Regions from separate parts of the Homo sapiens genome. Here regions 2, 3, 4, 5, 6 and 7 are each linked to region 1. The links are contacts of gene promoters, found by promoter capture Hi-C in blood cells and fetal thymus (Javierre and others, 2016). All regions are on one chromosome and are shown on one strand. The core of a region is centred on a gene start or on the middle of the fragment in contact, and the rest is flanking DNA. Distances in the headings are between cores, read along the strand shown. Region 1 holds the start of DENND5B-AS1 (DENND5B antisense RNA 1). Region 2 overlaps BICD1 (BICD cargo adaptor 1). Region 3 overlaps BICD1 (BICD cargo adaptor 1). Region 4 overlaps BICD1 (BICD cargo adaptor 1). Region 5 overlaps BICD1 (BICD cargo adaptor 1). Region 6 overlaps BICD1 (BICD cargo adaptor 1). Region 7 overlaps BICD1 (BICD cargo adaptor 1).

Region 1 (2,733 bases), core at 60-2,559:
CCCCACCCCTCTCCGTCGCACGCGCCGAGCCCCGGCGCCCCCGCCCGCCCCGCGCTCCCACAGCCCGAGCGCCGCTCAGCTGACCCGCGGGCGCCAGACGCGGCGGCTCTCAGCTCGCGAGCGCAGCTGCGGCTGCGAGGGCCTCTCAGGCCGACACTCCCCCCGCGCCCCTCCCCCACCCGGCCGGGCTCCGGACCCGCCGCGCGCGAGCCCGCGGCCGCTTCCCCCGCGCCGAGCGAGGAGGCAGGCTGCGGCGGCGAGAGGCGGCTGCGCGGCCATGGGCGCGCCAGTGTCGCCCTAGGGCGGGCGCACAGACCACAGCCGGAGCGGTGGTGGCAGCCTCCGCAGAAAGCCTTCCCGGGCGGCGGCGGCGGCGGCCCCTGGAGCAGCGCGGCCGGGATGAGCGGGAGCTGCGCGGCGCCCGGCCCGGGCTCGGGCTCCTCCCCGGCCGCCTGCCGCTTCGCGCACTACTTCGTGCTGTGCGGGATCGACGCGGACAGCGGGCTGGAGCCTGACGAGCTGGCGGGTAAGGCCAGGGCTGCGGCGGCGCTGAGCCCCCTCAGGGGCGCGGGGGACGCTGTGGGGACGCGCGGGAGGCGGGGTGCAGGCTCCAGACAAAGTCAGCTCCCGGTGGCGCCCTCCCGCCGCTTTCTGGCCGAACTGGCGCTCGGGCGCGATTTAATGACATTGTTATTTATTCCGCGTGCGGGCTTTGCGGCTGCGCCCACCGGGGCTTTCGCCTCCAGGCGCTGGGTTATTAATAACAGGCGCGGGGGTGGCCCCAAGGGCACGGACCCCGCCTGGCGCGCCGGCCCCTTCGCTTGCAGCCGCACTCGGAGGCGGCCGGTGAGTCACCGGGCGCGCGGGCTGCCCCCCGACCGCCGTGCCTGCCTCCCACCCGCCAGCCACCCGGCCCCGGCCGCGAAGTTTCGGCCCCGCACGTGACGCGGCTTTCGGGCCTCTTCGGGAGACGGGGAGTCGGACTCAGCTCGGCTCCCGCCGGGGTAGCGTCCGCGGAGGAGCCGGTGGCCGTGCGGAGCGAGCGCGGGGCGGGGACCGGTCGGACTCTGCCCTCTGCGCCGCCTGCCGCTCTGCGGTGCCGGCCAAGTCACCTTTTGGAATCCTGTGGATTTGGCCGCGTCTGGGAGCTGGCAGGGACCTTTGGACGCTCGGGACCCAGCACCGCGCTTTGTTGACACTGCCTACACTGTTCCCGAGTTTAAATTCAGTTGGGTGCACCGTGTGTTAGTGCCTGGTTTTCCCGGAGGGGTACCGGTCCTTCCGCTTGACTCATTTGATGGCGCAGTGCGGGGCTGTGCTGGGCAAACGACGCCGTTAAAAGGGGCCGCTAAAGGGCGATGGGCGGGGGCAGGGCAGCGGAGTGCGCAGTGTCGAGAGGAGGCCGGGGAGAAACAACTGATTTCATTTTTCACGCCTGTTCCTTTCTGCTTGCCTCCGCGGGATCTGAATCTTGATTTGTTGTTGTTGTTAAATGGGTGAGAGAAGTGACATCTACCGCCTGAACTTTGTGTTAAAGACTTAGGTCATAGCCTTTCAGAACAACTTCCTTTGGACAAATAATTCCTTATTGATTGCACTAACGTAAATTTTTCGCTTTTCCTTTGGTGGGGGTGGGGAGACTGGGAAGAATATATTAAATAATAAACAATAGTAAACAAAACTGTTCAGCCTTAAAATACAGTCCCCATCAACCCACGTCTTGGCTATCTTCTTCTTAACTCAGCTTCAGAGCAAAACATTTTCTTTTTTTCATATTCTTCGGAGGTAGAAACACAAAACATTTTCAACAAAAACTGTAAGTCTAGTTTTAGTTAAAAAAAAATTTGGAGAGATAATAGAATACCAAGTTTTTCCGTATGTGTAATTATGTAATCACATTGTTTCTTCAACTAAGATTTCATGTACATGTTAAGAATGGCTTTGTTAAAGGATATGAAGAAAAAATGTCTGCAGAGAGATTTGGAGAGATTCTTCTCGAGATTGGTGAAGGAATATTGTTATTTTTCTAGACTCCTTTCTTCCCTAAAGATCCTAAACATTTGTGGCACCAGGGTCACTTGGAGGCCTTCTGTCAGTGATGACTAATGAAAGGAAAAAAGCCTGTATTTTTCTTTTCCGTTTGCCTACTGAAGCTAAAACTGTACCTTTTAGGTGTGACCTAGGACTCTTTAGGCACAGAGAGAATGATGTTAACAAAACCATCAATTAGACTTTAATGCATTTTTAAGAAACAAACTATGATGTCTCTTTTTGCAAAACTGTGTGAGTGTGGGTGATTGGGATTTCTGCTTCTCATAATATTTAATGTATTCAGGTAATAATGTATTTTGCCTTGTAATATTTCAGTATCATTCATCCAACAGTTTTGAAAGCATCTATCTGTAGTCGGTTTTTTAGGCACTGGGGACAGCTGTGAAGAAAGCAGTCAGAAATCCCTGCCATCATGGAGCATACGTTCTAGTGTAAAGAGATAATGAAAATACAATCATCTCTCCGTAACCATGGGGGATGGATTCTAGAGTGTCCCCCACACCAAAATCCTCGGATGCTGAAGTCTCTTATAATAAAATGTTGTAGCATTTGTATATAACCTATGAACATTTTCCTGTACACTTTGTCATCTCTAGATTACTTACAATACCTGTTACGTTGTAATGTTATGTAAATAGTTGTTATACTGTATTGTTTAGGGAATAATGACAAGAAAAGAAG
Region 2 (2,733 bases), core at 128-2,627, 790 kb before region 1:
AGCAATTGTGTGGGCAGCACTTGATGGTTAAGGAGCCCGAGAGTGTTAGACCTTTCAGCTCAGTTAGCTGTTTTCCTTGTTTGTCAGATTATGTGCAAAATAAATTTTGCTATGAAAATCCACTGCCTTAAATCAAGTCATAAAAGTTACCCAGCAGAATCTGTAAATTAACCAGGAACATGTATTATCTCAAGATAATAGAATGTTTGTAGGCACCTGAGTGTTTGTCAAAAGTAGACAATGAGCTAAGGTTTATTATCTATTGTTTTTTTGGCAAGGAAGATTCGTTATGAAAAAAACTAACAACAACAAAACATACAATTTTAATCAAACTTTGAACACTCTCTGGGTAAATTAATTAATTAAAGGCTATCTTACATCTATATATGTATATATTTTCCCATTTGTACTTGATACCTTTTATCAGGAAAGACTCAGTAGGACCCTGATTTTGGGAGAAGTAAAAAAAATTCTGGTCATTAAATAAACACACCATTTTTTTCCCTTCAAGTTATTGAGCCTTCTTTAACGTTATCACACACATACACACATACAAAGGAGCAGCACCAGTACATCTACTCAACTGCAATGAAAAAATAAAAGTAAAGATGCCATCAAAACTTGAATAAGTCAATAAATCATAACTTAGTCTCTTTCTTAGATTTACTTAGTAATGTCCAGTGAAGAACTCTAGTTAAAAATACAAAAACAAAACCCAGCAGTTAATGAGCTACTGATTAGAAAGTAAGTGCCTAAACAATACCAGCGTAGCAGCAAAATACAGTTATTGTTAACATTCTGATGCACCTCATTTATCATTTTGTGCAAGAAAAATGACCACAGTCTGGCCAATTCCAGATTTCAAACTAAATTCAAACTCATACTTAATTGAGCAAATTATGCTTATTTGAAAATAAATGAATTAAATTCACCTCAGAGAAATTATTTGTATAGACATAAATCATGTAGCAAATAAAGTACAAAATAAATATCAATGACAAACATATTGGAATCAACTTCCCTAGCTGAATTTGGAGTGTGAGGAAAGATGATACTGCAATATACGTATTTTACATGTCTTAGGTCTCTCTTATGCTATCGAGGTAAAGCCAGCCATCTGAGACACGTTTTCTGTTTCTTTTTTCTTTTTTTTAAATTTAAATGAACTGTAGCCATTTGATGGCAGAAGTTTATCTGTGACTCAGAGAAACCACAAAATGTTTTATCACATCAGGGTCTGTGCTTCGTGTTCTTCTCAACTTTCTCTCGTCTTCCAAAACGATGGACATTAATCCAATTGTACATCTAACAACCGAGAAGAAAACACCCGCTGGATCTTGGGCAGTATCCTGTGTGTGGCTACAAAACTTCCACCCCAGATGTTCGTCCACAGGAGATGAAGACTAGGGGTGAGGAGGCTTGGAGAGACAGTGGAGAGGGGCGCACTGGGAGCTGGAATGTGGCTGCTCCTCAGGGAGAGCTGTGTCAGGACTGGAAAGGAGAAACAAGCACGTCAGCAAGAAACACATTTCAAAGGGCCAGGCACAATGGTAGGGGTTAGACGAGATATTTTTGCATAGATTTTGAGAACAAGAACAGAAATCTGCACAGTAAATGGTTTCCATCTAAAGCATGCCAAGATAATGGTAGCTTTTCAAAACAAGGCATAAAAAAGAAAAATGAAATGTATTAAGGAAATGATATATGCACTCTTCCCTCAAAGTCACTCTTCTCTTTTCTTGTTTTCCCTATTTTCTTGCCCCCAGCATTTTACAGAAGTTCTTCTCAATTTTTGCACGGTCTTGTTCTCCTAGGTCTCTGTGTTAGCTGTAAGATTTCATGAGATCAGTTCTTTTCAAACTTTAATATGCATGCAAATTACCTGGGGAGCTCAGTATAAAGGGCAGATTCGGATTCATTAGGTGTGGGGTGAGATCTGAGATTCTACATTTTTAATGAGCTCCCAGTGATGCTGATGGTACTGACAGGTTGACCAAGGCTTTGGAGTTTAGAGGATTCTATAGTTATCTGGTAGATCCAGATTCACTAGGATAAAGAATTTGCCTGTGGAAGTCTAATTTGCTCTAAGAATTCCCCCTACCTGCTTGGGCTTGGAGGTATAAGGAAGAGTTTTATATTTCACCCCCCCCCCCCTTTTTTTTTTAGATGGAGTCTCGTTGTTTTGCCCAGGCTGGTGTGCAGTGGCTCCATCTCAGCTCACTGCAGCCTCCGCCTCCCGAGTTCAAGCGATTCTCCTGCCTCAGCCTCCCGAGCAGCTGGGATTACATGCATGCACTACCATGCCCTGCCAATTTTTGTATTTTCAGTAGTGATGGGGTTTTGCTATGTTGGCCAGGCTGGTCTCGAACTCCTGACCTCTGGTGATCCACCTGCCTCGGCCTCCCCAAGTGTTGGGATTACAGGCGTGAGCCACCGAGCCCAGCCTAACATTTCCCATTTGTTAAGTGTATAATGTAACTTTCCAAACGACGCCTGTGATAGCCTCTAGTTTAAATGAACCTGTGCTCAGGCCTATCAGGGTCTGGATGAATAATCTTGAAGAATAAAGAAGCAAAATCATTGAGTTTCCTAGGGTAAAATGACAAAACACATTTGGGTTTGGGCCTTTTAAAATTTGACTAGCGGCCGGGCGCGGTGGCTCACACCTGTAATCCCAGCACTTTGGGAGGCCAAGGCAGGAGGATTATGAGGTCAAGAGATTGAGACCATCCT
Region 3 (2,733 bases), core at 130-2,629, 750 kb before region 1:
GAAAATGTTGCTAAGATTGATTTGATAATAATTTACTAAGCGTTAATCTGGTTGATTCCACGATACATAATTAAAAATTCCTAAGGCTATAATAACAGCTTTACTTCCTTTCCTCTTTTATTATTTTAACTTTACATAAATGGTGAGAATTATAAAGGTTATCAATATGTTAAGCTGTCATTAGCATGACCTTCTGGTCTGGTGATTATTCTGAATTCCACATTCCTTATATCTCTAATTTTTTTTTTTTTTTTGAGACAGTGTCTCACTCTGTCACCCAGGCTGGAGTGTAGTGGTGCGATCTCGGTTCGCTGAAACTTCCGCCTCCCTGTCTCAAGGGATCCCACTTTAGCCTCCTGAGTAGCTGGGACTACAGGTGCCCACTACCACACCTGGCTAATTTTTGTAGAGACGGGTTTTCACCATGTTGCCAAGGCTGGTCTAAAACTCCTGAGCCCAAGTGATTCACCTGCCTTGGCCTCCCAAAGTGCTGGGATTACAGGTGTGAACCACTGCAGCCGGCCTCGAATCTCATAAATAGTAATCATTTCTAAGGTCAATGGTATTTTCTGGTTATTCAAAACTAAAGAGTTTAAGACAATATATGGTACTCTCATTCATGTATGCTAACTGACTTTAGAGTTGTAAGATGTGCACAGTGTGGATAAAGTAGCAGAAAGATTCCCAATGTGGGAAAAAGGGAAAGTGTTTTATGGGCTTTTAGTACATTGATATACCCTTCTTGACAGCAACATCAGAATGGAGCAAAAAACATAAGGATGTTCAACTTTTAACTGAGTGATCTCACTCTTGAGAAAAATGTAATAGATGAGAAGCTGAATGCATGAGGGTATTCCCAGCAGTGCTCTATAATATAACAAATAATGAAAAACTACCTCAGTGGACAAGAAGAGAAGTAGTGATTAATGTGATAACAGCATCTGAAACAAAATCTATGATACAATAACTTTAACAAATAAAAACAAGACTAGATAGCAACATGGAAAAGCTTGTGATATAATGTTCATGGCTTAAACAATGTAATGATAACAATATAAAGTATATATTCATGTAAACAAAAACCAGTCATACAAAAATGAAAACAGTTATTGTTGTTAACATTGATTATTAATTTTTAACCTTATTGAGATGTTATCTTTTTAATTAAACAGCAATAGGAGTTATTTATTAATCATACCAATTTCTTTTCTAAGTTCCAGTAGATAGTGCTACTAAATCCATTTGGAACACTAAAAAGAAGACTTGTGGGTTTTATCCGAGTTAGGTATCCTGATAAATCATTACCACTTTGGTGATTCACAGAATACTTCAAGGTACCTTCCAAGGAGGTCTAAAACAATAGGAAATCAGTTATGAAATTAAAAACACCAAGCAGTTTTTACTTTTTTTCTTCTTAGGTGTATATTTTGGCTATTACACCATTCCAACTCATTATCACTACCAATTTCCTCAAACACCTTTAGAACGTGAAATGCACTATCAGTTTCTACACCACATCTTTTAATCCCAATCAGTAGGCTGACTTCATGAATCAGATAAGGAAAGTATTAGAGATCCAAAGGCTGAGGTTTGCAAAAAGGAATTAAGGTAAAATGAAAAAAAAAATTCTATTTCAACGGTGGCAAACTCAAAGACTACAGGAGGGGCCAGGAGAGAATAGAAATGAGGATAGCAGGCTGGGTATAAGTAATAAGGAGGAGTGGTGACTGTGGCAAAGTGCGAAGCTTGCCCTAACAGCAGCAGCCACTACAGAGCTCCAACAGGTGTTGACATGCGTGAACGCAGACCTAGGGCTGCCAGATATTCAGAATCTTCCAAAAGAGGCCAGAAATACTGATGTTCATATAAAATCTCTTGAATTTTTAACTGTCAATAACTAACTTAAATAGTTTTATTTTTTATTTTCTGGCAATAGTCAAATAACAGCTGCCTTTAAGCTTACTTTGGTTTATGGGCTCCTTGTTTGCCACTTCTGCCCTATACTCACATGCAGGGATTCCTTAAAAGGATGATTTTTATTTGCAAGAATAATTTTCTCTATTTGCCATATGTCACATTTTCAAGTTAGGCCTCTTCATAGAACAAGTAAAAAGAATGAAAGGAAGGAAGGAAGAAAGAAAAATGCAAAATAGTGAAGCTAAGTGTGAACATGTTGGTAAGCATTAACCAGTGGGGGGCCTGCAATCTACAAGAACATTATACTAAGACCTAAATGTTCTTGAGGAGCAAAATCTTAGAAGGTTTTACTTTTATTCTCAATATAATGATTGAGGAGACGTTCTGAGTCACCACAAAAGGAAATCAGCCCAAAAGCCTTGTTATACATATGGCTCTCCCTTTACGGAAATTACATTAAAAACGATAAGAGAGAACTGGCCAAATCTGACCAAGATGGAATCGCCATGAGCTACCAAACTGCAAATAGGATCCAAGTGTGTGTGCGTTGTGCTTGTTGCTAATTTCCCTTTACCTATCCCATTCCTTCCAACTCTCATTTGCCATCTTTGGCTGTTAAATGGAAGTCTGTCATTCTAAGGAATATGAGTGAAGGAGGAAATGGGAAGCTAAGTGTAAGGAAGTTTTTACTTGACTTATAGGAATTTACACATCATCAAAGGTATACTCTGCAGCTGGGTGAGCCTGAGTGACCGGAAGGAAGGGGAGAGTCTATTCAACTAATCATTTGCATCACATGCACCCAAGGAAAAAATG
Region 4 (2,733 bases), core at 106-2,605, 730 kb before region 1:
AGGTACTCACAAAGATATTTCCAGATGTTTAAAGTGCAGAGGATAAAATGTTGGAAGGTGATCCAAACTTAGAAATGAGGATGACAATTTGCCAAAGCATAGAAAAGATTCTTGCTCAGTGTCCTAAGTTTTTTTTTTTGTTTTTTTTTTGAGATGGAGTCTAGCTCTGTCACCAGGCTGAAGTGCAGTGGTGTGATTTACGCTCACTGCAACCTCCGCCTCCCGGGTTCAAGCGATTCTTCTGCCTCAGCCTCCTAAGCAGCTGGGACTACAGGCACACGCCACCACACCTGGCTAATTTTTGTATTTTTAGTAGAAATGGGGTTTCACCATGGGGTTTTTAGTAGAAATGGGGTTTCAGCCTGGCGGCTGGTCTCGAACTCCTGACCTCGTGATCTGCCCACCTCGGCCTCCCAAAGTGCTGGGATTACAGGCGTGAGCCACCGCGCCCGGCCCTAAGCTTTATGGGAAGGCAAGATCAAAATACTCTTGATAAGCTGTTTACAAAGAAATAAAAGGTTAACTCTCAATATTCCTAATGTTTTAAATTATGAAGTACTAAGTAGTTTTACTATATTTTCATTTCTATATATATTTATAACCAACAGTAAGAGACTTTTTAATGTTTCACAAAAATATTTAAAGATCACAAAACAATTGTAAATTTCCCCATTAATTATTAAGTTTGTTTTGCATGGTTTCAGTTTGCATGACCATTTTTTACTGTCCCAGACTACTATGCAAACCAAGGACTGCCTGTATAGTATGATCACATATATTAGAACCTAAGATACAGTTTTGTTATCTCAAGGTGTTATTTAGAGGCTTTTAAGTTGTAGCTCTGATTTTATGACATAGTGTTTGTCCATACCTATGAAAGGAAAGCAACCCACAAATTATATATTATGGCTGCAGAAACCAAATTATTCCCAAATGATAGTACTGCAGGTAAAGAACTGGGCCTGTGGCATCAGAGAACACTGGAGTCAAATCTCGGGACCAACATTTACTTAGCTATGTGACTCTGAGAAAGCTTCAGTTTGGTAACCTATGCAAGGAGCACAGTAACGCCTCATAGGGAATTTTGATGATGAAGTGAGTTAGTGAATTTAATACTGAAGGTTCTACAATGTTAGCTATTGTGAACAATTGGTTAGCTGTGGTCCACCTCCCACAACCAAAATGTTTTTACATGGCAAACACATCTGTTCTCACAATTTTGAAAATTTTATAAAAGCAACTCTTTCATTTTAGAGTCAGGAAATATTTGAATACAAATCTTAGCTGGATTTCATTAGTTATAACAGACTGTATCTCCAGAGGTGATGATGAATTTGCTTACCCAGACTATTTGGGCAATAGTTTTCAGTGAAAAACCTGGTAATTATGTAATATGGTATTTCATGAATAGCCATGTCATTTGAATTTTTCATAAAGGAGATGGAAAATCTCTATTCTATACAATCTCAGTGAAAACTGATTATGTCAGAAGTGTTTTTGTTTTCCTTTTTTCCTTTGAAAATTAAGCAAATTTGCACTGGAAAGTGTAAACGTTATTCAATTAGTACACATGATTACAGATAAGGCTGTTTCCAAAACGCCCTTCAAAAGGAAAGGCCTCTGGATCAAATAAATATTGGATCAAAACAAAATGTACTGAATGTGTCTGAAGCTTGTTTTAGCAGCAAAAGTGTTATGATGAATAAGGTCATGCCTTTAGAACAGCCTTCAATCTGGACTCTGACAGTTGAGATTTAATATAAACATTTTCTAAGCCTAAAAAGGTAAGTCTACAGTGTCTTCACGATAGCATCTCCAGAAAACATCAAATAGAACACTGTCTCTTGCATGTGTGTTTCCTCCCTACACAACAGGAGTCCCCAACTCCCAGGCCTCTGACCAGTACCAGTTTGTGGCCTATTAGGAACCAGGCCACACAGCAGGAGGTGAGTGGCAGGCGAGCAAACATTACCGCCTGAGCTCTGCCTCCTGTCAGATGAGTGGCAGCATCAGATTGCCATAGGAGTGCGAACCCTATTGTGAACTGCGCATGCGAGGGATCTAGGTTGCAAGCTCCTTATGAGATCTAATGGCCCCAGACCACCCGCACCCTATCTGTGGAAAAATTGTCTTCCATGAAACAGATCACTGGTCCAAAAAAAGTTGGGGACTGCTGCTATACAGTACTACTTTCTATATTTAATACGTTTCTGCTGAAATCAATTGAATAGGAAATTGTATCCAAATTACATATATATTACACACATATGTAAATATATATTATACACATATAAATATATCATATCTATCTATCTATATATATTTCTCCCAGATAATTAAGTTTGGCCTGACAAAAAAATTACTAAAATACAGGTAATTTTGTAAAACTCCAACACTGTATTTTCACTCAGCTATTAAGGCTTAGAGTACCTTAAATGGTATTTGGATTTCAAAGAGCAGATGCTTAAACTGTTTTATTTATTTATTTATTTATTTTATTTTTTTGAGACGGAGTCTCACTCTGTCGCCCAGGCTGGAGTGCAATGGTGTGATCTCGGCTCACTGCAACCTCCGCCTTCTAGGTTCAAGTGATTCTCCTGCCTCAGTCTCCCAAGTAGCTGGGATTACAGGCGTCTGCCACTGCGCCTGGCTAATTTTTGTATTTTTAGCAGAGACAGAGTTTCACCATGTTGGTCAGGCTGGTCTCGAACTCTTGACCTCAGGTGATCCACC
Region 5 (2,733 bases), core at 104-2,603, 700 kb before region 1:
AAACTGTCAATAGCGGTGACTTATAAAGAATTAGACTGGGCAAGCCACAGGGATAAGGAGAGGAGCCTATTCGTTTGATTTTATGTCCTTCTGGATCATTTCAATTTTTTTTTTAACAACAAGCTTGTATTACCAGGACTTATGTGTAAAGTTACAGGATATAAATCAATCAATTAAGTAAAATATTTAACTTTTTCCATAAACTTATATGGCAAGTATAAGCTATGTTTTAGTTCAAAATGTATAATGACCACATAACAGATATAAACATTTATACATGTAACATATTCATAGTCATGGAAAGATGGGATATAAAAGTTTTCTTTTAATTAAGGATTAATTAGATTTGTTTCCTATTCAAACAAAGAGAAATATGGGAAGAAGTATCATAGAAACCAAAAACCACATTTTCTTATGTAATACCTAGATATCCATATGCGAAAAAAATAAGTCATGATGCATTTGGCCTTCACACCATAATTTGCAGAGCCTTGATATAGTGGTAGGTAGGACTGACAATGAATAGAAACTGCTATTGCAACACAGATGAATCTCACTAATATATTGACTGAAATAAGCCAGATGCAAAAGACTACATACAATATGATTCTGCATGTAAAGTTCAAAAACATGCTATGTAGGTTCAATTGTCTCCCAAAAAAGACATGTTGAAGTCCTAACTCCCAGGGTCTTTACAAAGGCAAAAATTAAAATGAGATCATTAGAGGAGGCCCAATCCGATAGGGCTGCTGTCTTTATAAAAAGGGGAAATTCAGCCACACAGAAACTGACACATACTTCTGCATGTGGGATGGGAAGACTATGTGAAGAAACACAGGGAAAAGATGGCCACGTGACCATGGAGGCAAAGACCGAAGTGACCCATCTACACGCCAAGGAACATCAAGGATTGCCAGCAAACACCAGAAGCCAGGAAGGGGCAAGGAAAGGCCTTTCCCTAGAGCTGCCAGAGGGAGCATGGCCCTGCCGACACCATGATTTCTGACTTTTGGCCTCCAGAACTGTGAGACGATAAATTTCTGTTGTTTTAAAGCCACCCAGACTTTGTTACGGCAGCCCTAAGAAAAGAATACCTGGGCAAAACTAATCTACAGTGACAGAAGTAAATGCACTGTTATCTTTGCAGGAGGGTAGGGTGACATCTGCAAGCACTAGAAACATTTTAAAGGTCTCTATCCTAACAGAGAGCCAGCTCTAGAAGTATACCTGACTTTCCGACATATGCTTTCAAATGTCTCTCATCTTGCTTCATAGTCCACAGATTTTTTTTTTTTAAAGACATGTTCTCACTCTGTCACCCATGCTACAGTGCAGTGGCATGATCACGGCTTACTGCAGTCTTGACCTCCCAGGCTCAAGTGATTCTCCCACCTCAGCCTCCTAAGTAGCTGGGACTACAGGTGTACACCAGCACAACTGGCTCATTTTTGTATTTTTTGTAGAGATGGTATTTCACTATGTTGCCCAGGCTGGTCTCAAACTCGTGAAGGCAATCCTTCTGCCTCAGCCCCCAAAGTGCTGGGATTACAGGTGTGAGCCACTGTGCCCAGACTTCTACAAATTTAATATATATTTTTTTTTTTGGTAGAAGCAGGGTCTTGCTCTGTTGCCCAGGTGCCTTAATCACAGCTTATTGTAGCCTTGACCTCCCAGGCTTAAGTGATCCTCCCACCTCAGCCTCCTGAGTAGCTGGGCCTACAGATGCACACCATCACGCCCAGCTAATTTTTAAATTTTTTATAGAGGTGGGGTCTCGCCATGTTGCCTAAGCTGGTCTCGAATGCCTGGGCTCAAGCAATCCTCCTGCTTTGGCCTCCCAAAGTGCTGGGATTATAAGCGTGAGCCACTACACCCGGCCCATATTCTATAGATGTTAACTGTAAATAACTCCCTTTGTCTCTGGTTTTCAGAGGCATGTTCAGTTGTCTATTTGAACATGGTGATGTTTTTTCTTCTGACTTGACTCCTGAGTACAGCTCTTCCTAGTTCTGTTTATGCATATGTGAAAACAACAAATTATAAACACATAATCTTTCATGTAAAAAATGAAAAATTCAACTCCAAAATCACTGATGCAGTTCCAGCTAATAAAATAGGCAGACACTGTAATCTCTAAGTAGTGGCGTTAGCTCAGAGTTTTGGGGAGGATAAGGGGTTGTTGACTGTGGTGTAAAGACAGATGTTAAAAAAATTATTCTGACACTTGTTAAAATGGTAAGGAAGACTTCATTCAAAACCATTGCAATTGGAGGGGGGAAAAGAAGGGGCTCAACTCTGAAACAGCAAGAGCAAGTGAAGATTTATAGCCAAGAACAGCATGAGGATGTCAAAGGATGGGAAATTGCTAAAAGAACACATCAAGGGCAGGGGAATTCTTGCTAAGCTGGCCTAACAGGACTCTTGCTAAAGGCAGTCCAAGGACTTAGACATCAAAAAGGTGGAGGATGAAGAACTTGATCAGATATCAAGGGTAATTAGATATCTAGGGTTGGGAGATGACTTAGCAGAATTCCTTGCTAAGGCTGGGCTGGGCAAGCCAAAGCTGGGGGTGGAGCAAGCTTGAAGCCTGGTCCAAAAGAGACATTAGCAGAGCATGACTGAAGCTTGGTTAAGGAGAGAGTCTTTGACACCTCACAGTCATGAACTGCAGTCTGATAGGAATGAAAGCTAAGAAAGTTTGCAAGACACTTTACCTGGTGATAATATGAATAT
Region 6 (2,733 bases), core at 61-2,560, 600 kb before region 1:
TATATTGTTTTAATAAGACAACTGTTTGCCCAGATGAGCAAACTGTTTGTCCTGATAAATTGATTTGCAAGACTTTCCTAAAGCAAACAGTGAATTTATTTATTAATTTACTGTCTTATCTTCCTGGGCACGAATTTCGTGGAACAAAGAGTTAAGTTATATTGACATGGGTGGGCTCAGTTTTAATACTTCACAAGAAAAGACCTGACCTAAAGTCAGAAAAAAGAAAAGACCTGGAATTTTAGAGGTGGGTGATTAATCTAAGCCCATAAACTCACCATAGAAGAAACCGAGATCCAGAGAGTTCAAATAACCTGCCCAAATTCACTGAGCCAGTTAGTGAGAGAGCAGGCAACATAACCCAGATATTCTGGCTCCTAATCCAGTGTTCTTTCCATTATATCACTCAGCCCCTATTTTGAAGTCTTTTGGACCTCAAGAAATAAAGTATTTTATAACACCTCTAAATGGTTTCCAGGATCTCAAACATTTCCATAAATATAATGCAGAGATTTAAGCAGAGGCACGACATTTGCAAAGTTGTCAAGTCACATCTCACACACTTCACGATGAAAAAAATTCAGAAATGAATATGGTATTTTATTTTACATCATTAAAGACCACAATTATACTTTGGCAAAAATGTCCATTCCACCATTTGGTTTTCTGCACTCCATATTTGGAAACAAATAAAAAATAATAAAGAACTTTGACCAGCACTCCAATGTCACAACTGTCCCCCTGAAACACCATATAAAGACTTTCTGTTCATTTTATGACTCTTCATCATCTAGAAAGTGTGAAATTTAGACATGTTGGTTTTATGTTTAGATTGCTGAGACAGTGGAAAGATTTATAATACATCACGTAGCAAAAAGCTTCCTACTGCTTAAGGTTCTGTGGTCCAATACGGTGGCCACTACCCACATGTGACCACTTAAATTTAAATTAATTAAAGCAAAATTCAAAAATCAGTTCTTCACTCATATACTTATATTTTTATAGTAGAAATGGCTGTGTACTTTCAGCAATGTTTTAGGGGTATGTTGTATGTGGCCACCTCACTATTGAATGTACACCACTCTAGTAAATGTGCATCATTAAATAAACCACAAAGCAAGGTCAGGATAGGGTAACACAGTAACGAAGAGCCACAGAATCTCAAGTGTTTTAATACAAAAAAGTTTCATTTGTTCTAACCATGTTCAAGGCAGATGTTTCTGGCCAGGTGAGGTTCTCCTGGAAACATTGCCTCTATGCAGCAATTTGGAGAGACAGGCTCAAGGAGTTGGGGGAGAGTGGATTTTGCCACGTTTGTGAGCTAGGTCTGGAAGTGCCACACGTCATTCCTCCTCATAATCAACTGGCGGTGTTTAGTCTCCTGGCCCCACACAGATGCAAAGGGGTTGAGAAGGCCATCTTCCTATCAACCCAGGGAAAAGATGAAATGGCGTGGTGAGCACAGTGCACTGTCTTTGCTACTGAAGTGGGCCATCATCTGGACCTCATCACACAAACAGATGAGAATTTGTTTATGGCAAGTCTCAAGATTTTGTTAACTGTGGTGGATTCACCACCCCTCAGCATAAAAGGACTATAGATCCCTGCGTCATTGATGCCAGGAGTGGCTGTCTGATTTGGGAGCCCCTCTCCTGCACGACTGCAGGTCCCCAGAGCAGCCGTCTGACTTGCTTTGTAAAGTGTGAGTGCCATGACATGTGCTGCTTTGAAGCTGAAGCTTTAAGAACCATTGTGTGTGTTCCCATTGCGTTCTTTTTCTGTCTACTGAAACACTAGCAAAGCCTCAGGGAGAGGATGTTCCTTCAGCCCATATCTCAGAATGACAGTGACATGGAATAGTGTCTTAGTTACCTGCAATGAATGTACAGCATGAAAGACAAACCTTTATTGTTGTAAGCCCTTGAAATTTTGGGGTTTGTTACCACAGCATAATTTAGTCTAAGCTGACTAATAATGTATAATGTAATAATTTCAAAACCATAGCAGTGGATGTGGCTCTTTTGAAATAATCAAGAGTATAAATTGCTTATGATTTGTGATTAATAATAAAACATTCCTGTGAGTGGTAGAGAATATGACAAAAGCAATAATTTAAATTAGGTACAACCTTTCCTTTAGACTTCTTTGCTTGTGAAATTACCTCCCAGGTCATGTGAAAGGGGCTCTACCAGTGGCTTGAAGATGGCAGAGTCTCTGCTTCCCCTGCCAAATAGTGAAGGCTGTGGCAGGGGTGGAGTTCTTGTGGGGTGGTTATGCTCCCATGGTTTCTGGTACTATTGGTCCAGGTACATAAAAGGGTAAAGAAACATCCATCTGGACACAGCTTACACATAAAACAGGTTCCTACCAACTGATTTATAAAACACCTTCTGGAATTGAACATATCATATTGAAAACCACAAAATTGGTTCTGTAGGCATATAGCTAATAAGAACTAATTTTGTCATGTGCTTATAGCTTTTCTATTAAACCATAAAACACATTTTATGAGTTGAAGAGAGAATTTAGGTATCATAAACTTTGAAGGAAGATCAAGAAAGCAAAGCTAAAAGATGACTTAGTTGTAATTCATCCACCTTTTTCCAAAGTTTCAGGCGAAAGGATTCCTACCATCCTCACTTTGTTTTTCTGAACACTTTAAGTTCCTTTGCTGTTATTCTAAGGAAATTCTCTTTAGCTCTTCACTAAGGATAGAAAACAATTATTTTGGCC
Region 7 (2,733 bases), core at 78-2,577, 550 kb before region 1:
TCTTCCCTACATAGGGAAAAATTTCTTAAAGACACAAAAATACATAACAAAGAGAAAAATTAATAAATTCAATTACATTCACCAAATTGAGAATTTTATCAAAGGACACCACAAAAAGAGTAAACTGCAGAGATGAAGATATTTGCAACACATACAAAGAATAAAGGACTAGGGGCCAGAATATATATTATACAAAGAACTCCTATAGATCATTTTGAAAAGACAGGTAACATTTGAAATGGCTGAAGACTTAAACAGGCATTTCATAAATTAGGAAATCGAAATAAAAATATGAAAAATTGCTCAAGCTTATTAGTAACTAGGGATAATGCAAATTATAAGTACCATAGGATACCATTATACACCCATCAGTTGAGCCAAATGTTAAAATCTGACAATATCCAATGATGGTGAGAATAGAGAATTCTCATACACTGCTGGAAGGTAAATAAATTGGTATGATCGCTTTGGAAAATACAGGCAGGTTGAAGATTGGCAATTCTACACCACCGTGATCACGCTCATAGAAATTCGCAAACATGTTCACCAGGCTATATGTACAACAGGTGCAGAGCAGCACTATTCATAATAGCCCAAACAATGAAAGCAAGTCAAAACCCATCAACTAAAAAATGGATAAACTGTGGTACAATCATACAATGGGATACTATACCATAACAAAATGAAATAACTAGCACTGTGTACAACAACCTGGAGAATCTCACACACACACAAAAAAAAATGTTAAATGAAAGAAAAAGCATTAAATAATATATGCAATATTATTCCATTCATGTAAAGTTCAAAAAGCAGACAAAAACTAAATTATGTGTGATAAAACTATAAAAGAAAATTAAGTAAATTATTACAACAAGTTGTGGACAATGGTTGTCTGGGACAGAGAAAGCTACGATGGAGAAGGGCACAAATGGAGATTGTGCGGTGCTTATGATATTCTATTTCCTTCATCTGGGTGGTGGCTACATGAATAGCAGGTTTATATTATTTGTTAAACTGTATATTCATGTTTGTGCACTTTTTCTGTATATATGGTATATTTCCCACAGGATGTTTTTCAGAAAGGTTATATAGACATATGAGACTAGATGGTCTGGTAAAAGAATGACAGGTGATAGACAAAAGGCAAACAAAAAATATAATCAGGAGGTAATAAGTGCTATGAAGAAAAGAAAAGCAGGATAGGGGAATAGGTTGAGAAGAGAGAACTATTTAACGGCTTGTAGCACCAGGATCTCCATAGTTAAGCCTCATGGAGTGCCACTGTGAACACAGCAAAGGCAATGCAAATTGAATGCACAATGAAGTTTCAAATTGTGCTGCATGCAAGATTTCATAAAGTCCACAAGAGATGGCTCCAACAACATCAAAAGTCCCTGACAGATAAAGATCTGGCAGCATTAGACTGTCAACAATTGAAGAAAAGAAAATAAGAAAAGCTGTCTATATTTTGGGTGCTTCATGAGAGAATAATCTTAATGATGAAATTTTTTTAAGGCTTAGAAAACTAATGAAGCCCTCAAATATGGTGTGAGATCTCTTTATAAGAATGCTGCAAGAGTCAGATGTGAAGCGAAGGCTGTTGTAATATGCCTTTTTTATAGAAAAACAATCATGCTATAAATAACAATAAAGCATTTTTAATTTGAAAAATTAGTTGACTGCTATTTTTATCTAGATAGATAGACCAATAGATAGATAGATAGATAGATAGATAGATAGATAGGATAGATAGGTGGGGTTTTTTGTTTTTTTTTTTTTTTTTTTTTTTTTTAGACAGAGTCTCACTCTTTTGCCCAGGCTGGAAGTGTGGTGACACGATCTCAGCTCACTGCAACCTCTGCCTCCCAGGTTCAAGCGATTCTCCTGTCTCAGCCTCCCCAGTAGCTCAGAGTACAGGCGCCTGCCACCACACCTGGCTAATTTTTGTATTTTTAATAGAGACGGGGTTTCACCATGTTGGCCAGGCTGGTCTCGAACTCCTGACCTCTAGTGACCCGCCCACCTTGGCCTCCTAAAGTGCTGGGATTACAGGCCTGAGCCATCACGCCAGGCTGTCAATAAACTTTTATGTTGACATACTTCAATAGAGTTTCAGTCAATCCCTCTTTTCCCTCCCTAATTTTTCCTATTTGAAAAGAATCCGCTCTCTCCTGTTTTGTTCAGCAAAATGTAAAACATTGATAAGATTTATACCTTTTTGAAAAAAATAGACTATGGTTGAGCCCATACATTCGATGAACATTTGTTCGTCACCTACTATGTGCTAGGCTCTGGGGAGAAACAAAAACAAATGAAACAAGAATCACCAAGACTCAAGAAGCTTACAACGAACGGCGAATAAAAAGGCTAGAAAACCACTGGCTTCGGGAATCTGTGGTAAGTGCTATTCAAAATGGGTGTCCAGGCCAGGCGCGGTGGCTCACGCCTGTAATCCCAGCACTTTGGGAGGCTGAGGCGGATGGATCATTTAAGGTTAGGGGTTTGAGACCAGCCTGGCCAACATGGTGAAACCCCACCTCTACTAAAAATAGAAAAATTAGCTGGGCGTAGTGGCGGGCGCCTGTACTCCGAGCTACTCGGGAGGCTGAGGCAGGAGAATCGCTTGAACCCAGGAGGTGGAGGGTGCAGTGAGCCGAGATTGCACCACTGCACTCCAGCCTGGGCGACAGAGCAAGACTCCGCTCAAAAACAAAACAAAACAAAAAGTGTGTC

The links. The method cuts DNA at HindIII sites, captures the fragments that hold promoters and counts their contacts. A CHiCAGO score of 5 or more calls a contact.
Region 2: a contact is called between a fragment that was not itself captured here and the fragment with the promoter of DENND5B-AS1 in region 1, in 5 of 17 cell types (activated CD4 T cells, neutrophils, non-activated CD4 T cells and 2 more). The highest score is 7.6, in activated CD4 T cells.
Region 3: a contact is called between a fragment that was not itself captured here and the fragment with the promoter of DENND5B-AS1 in region 1, in 4 of 17 cell types (activated CD4 T cells, naive CD4 T cells, total CD8 T cells and 1 more). The highest score is 8.4, in activated CD4 T cells.
Region 4: a fragment that was not itself captured here is called in contact with the fragment with the promoter of DENND5B-AS1 in region 1 in 7 of 17 cell types (activated CD4 T cells, total CD8 T cells, naive CD4 T cells and 4 more); the score reaches 8.0 in activated CD4 T cells.
Region 5: a contact is called between a fragment that was not itself captured here and the fragment with the promoter of DENND5B-AS1 in region 1, in 6 of 17 cell types (neutrophils, total CD8 T cells, monocytes and 3 more). The highest score is 8.9, in neutrophils.
Region 6: a contact is called between a fragment that was not itself captured here and the fragment with the promoter of DENND5B-AS1 in region 1, in 1 of 17 cell types (neutrophils). The highest score is 5.5, in neutrophils.
Region 7: a contact is called between a fragment that was not itself captured here and the fragment with the promoter of DENND5B-AS1 in region 1, in 1 of 17 cell types (neutrophils). The highest score is 5.2, in neutrophils.

What each region holds. Positions count from the first base shown.
Region 1 is chr12:31,588,499-31,591,231 of GRCh38, reverse strand. DENND5B-AS1 (DENND5B antisense RNA 1) reads right to left here and starts at 1,309. Exons shown (of 3, transcript NR_046909.1): 1 at 1,113-1,309. It overlaps DENND5B (DENN domain containing 5B), which reads left to right and starts at 96. Exons shown (of 21, transcript NM_144973.4): 1 at 96-526. The coding sequence starts at 400. RefSeq lists silencers at 1-235, 306-575, 726-1,065 and an enhancer at 1,496-1,575. The HindIII fragment of the contact is 7,998 bases long and covers 1-2,733 here.
Region 2 is chr12:32,376,298-32,379,030 of GRCh38, reverse strand. It overlaps BICD1 (BICD cargo adaptor 1), which reads right to left. Exons shown (of 10, transcript NM_001714.4): 10 at 1-1,491. The coding sequence ends at 1,404. Among named protein-coding and RNA genes, the nearest start is that of FGD4, 22 kb to the left of the region's middle. The HindIII fragment of the contact is 3,960 bases long and covers 1-2,733 here.
Region 3 is chr12:32,338,985-32,341,717 of GRCh38, reverse strand. The region is part of intron 8 of BICD1 (BICD cargo adaptor 1); the gene reads right to left. Among named protein-coding and RNA genes, the nearest start is that of FGD4, 59 kb to the left of the region's middle. The HindIII fragment of the contact is 736 bases long and covers 1,012-1,747 here.
Region 4 is chr12:32,321,771-32,324,503 of GRCh38, reverse strand. All of the region lies in intron 4 of BICD1 (BICD cargo adaptor 1), which reads right to left. Among named protein-coding and RNA genes, the nearest start is that of FGD4, 76 kb to the left of the region's middle. The HindIII fragment of the contact is 639 bases long and covers 1,036-1,674 here.
Region 5 is chr12:32,290,401-32,293,133 of GRCh38, reverse strand. The region is part of intron 2 of BICD1 (BICD cargo adaptor 1); the gene reads right to left. Among named protein-coding and RNA genes, the nearest start is that of FGD4, 110 kb to the left of the region's middle. The HindIII fragment of the contact is 2,456 bases long and covers 126-2,581 here.
Region 6 is chr12:32,184,581-32,187,313 of GRCh38, reverse strand. All of the region lies in intron 1 of BICD1 (BICD cargo adaptor 1), which reads right to left. Among named protein-coding and RNA genes, the nearest start is that of BICD1-AS1, 78 kb to the right of the region's middle. The HindIII fragment of the contact is 860 bases long and covers 881-1,740 here.
Region 7 is chr12:32,141,465-32,144,197 of GRCh38, reverse strand. All of the region lies in intron 1 of BICD1 (BICD cargo adaptor 1), which reads right to left. Among named protein-coding and RNA genes, the nearest start is that of BICD1-AS1, 35 kb to the right of the region's middle. The HindIII fragment of the contact is 2,033 bases long and covers 311-2,343 here.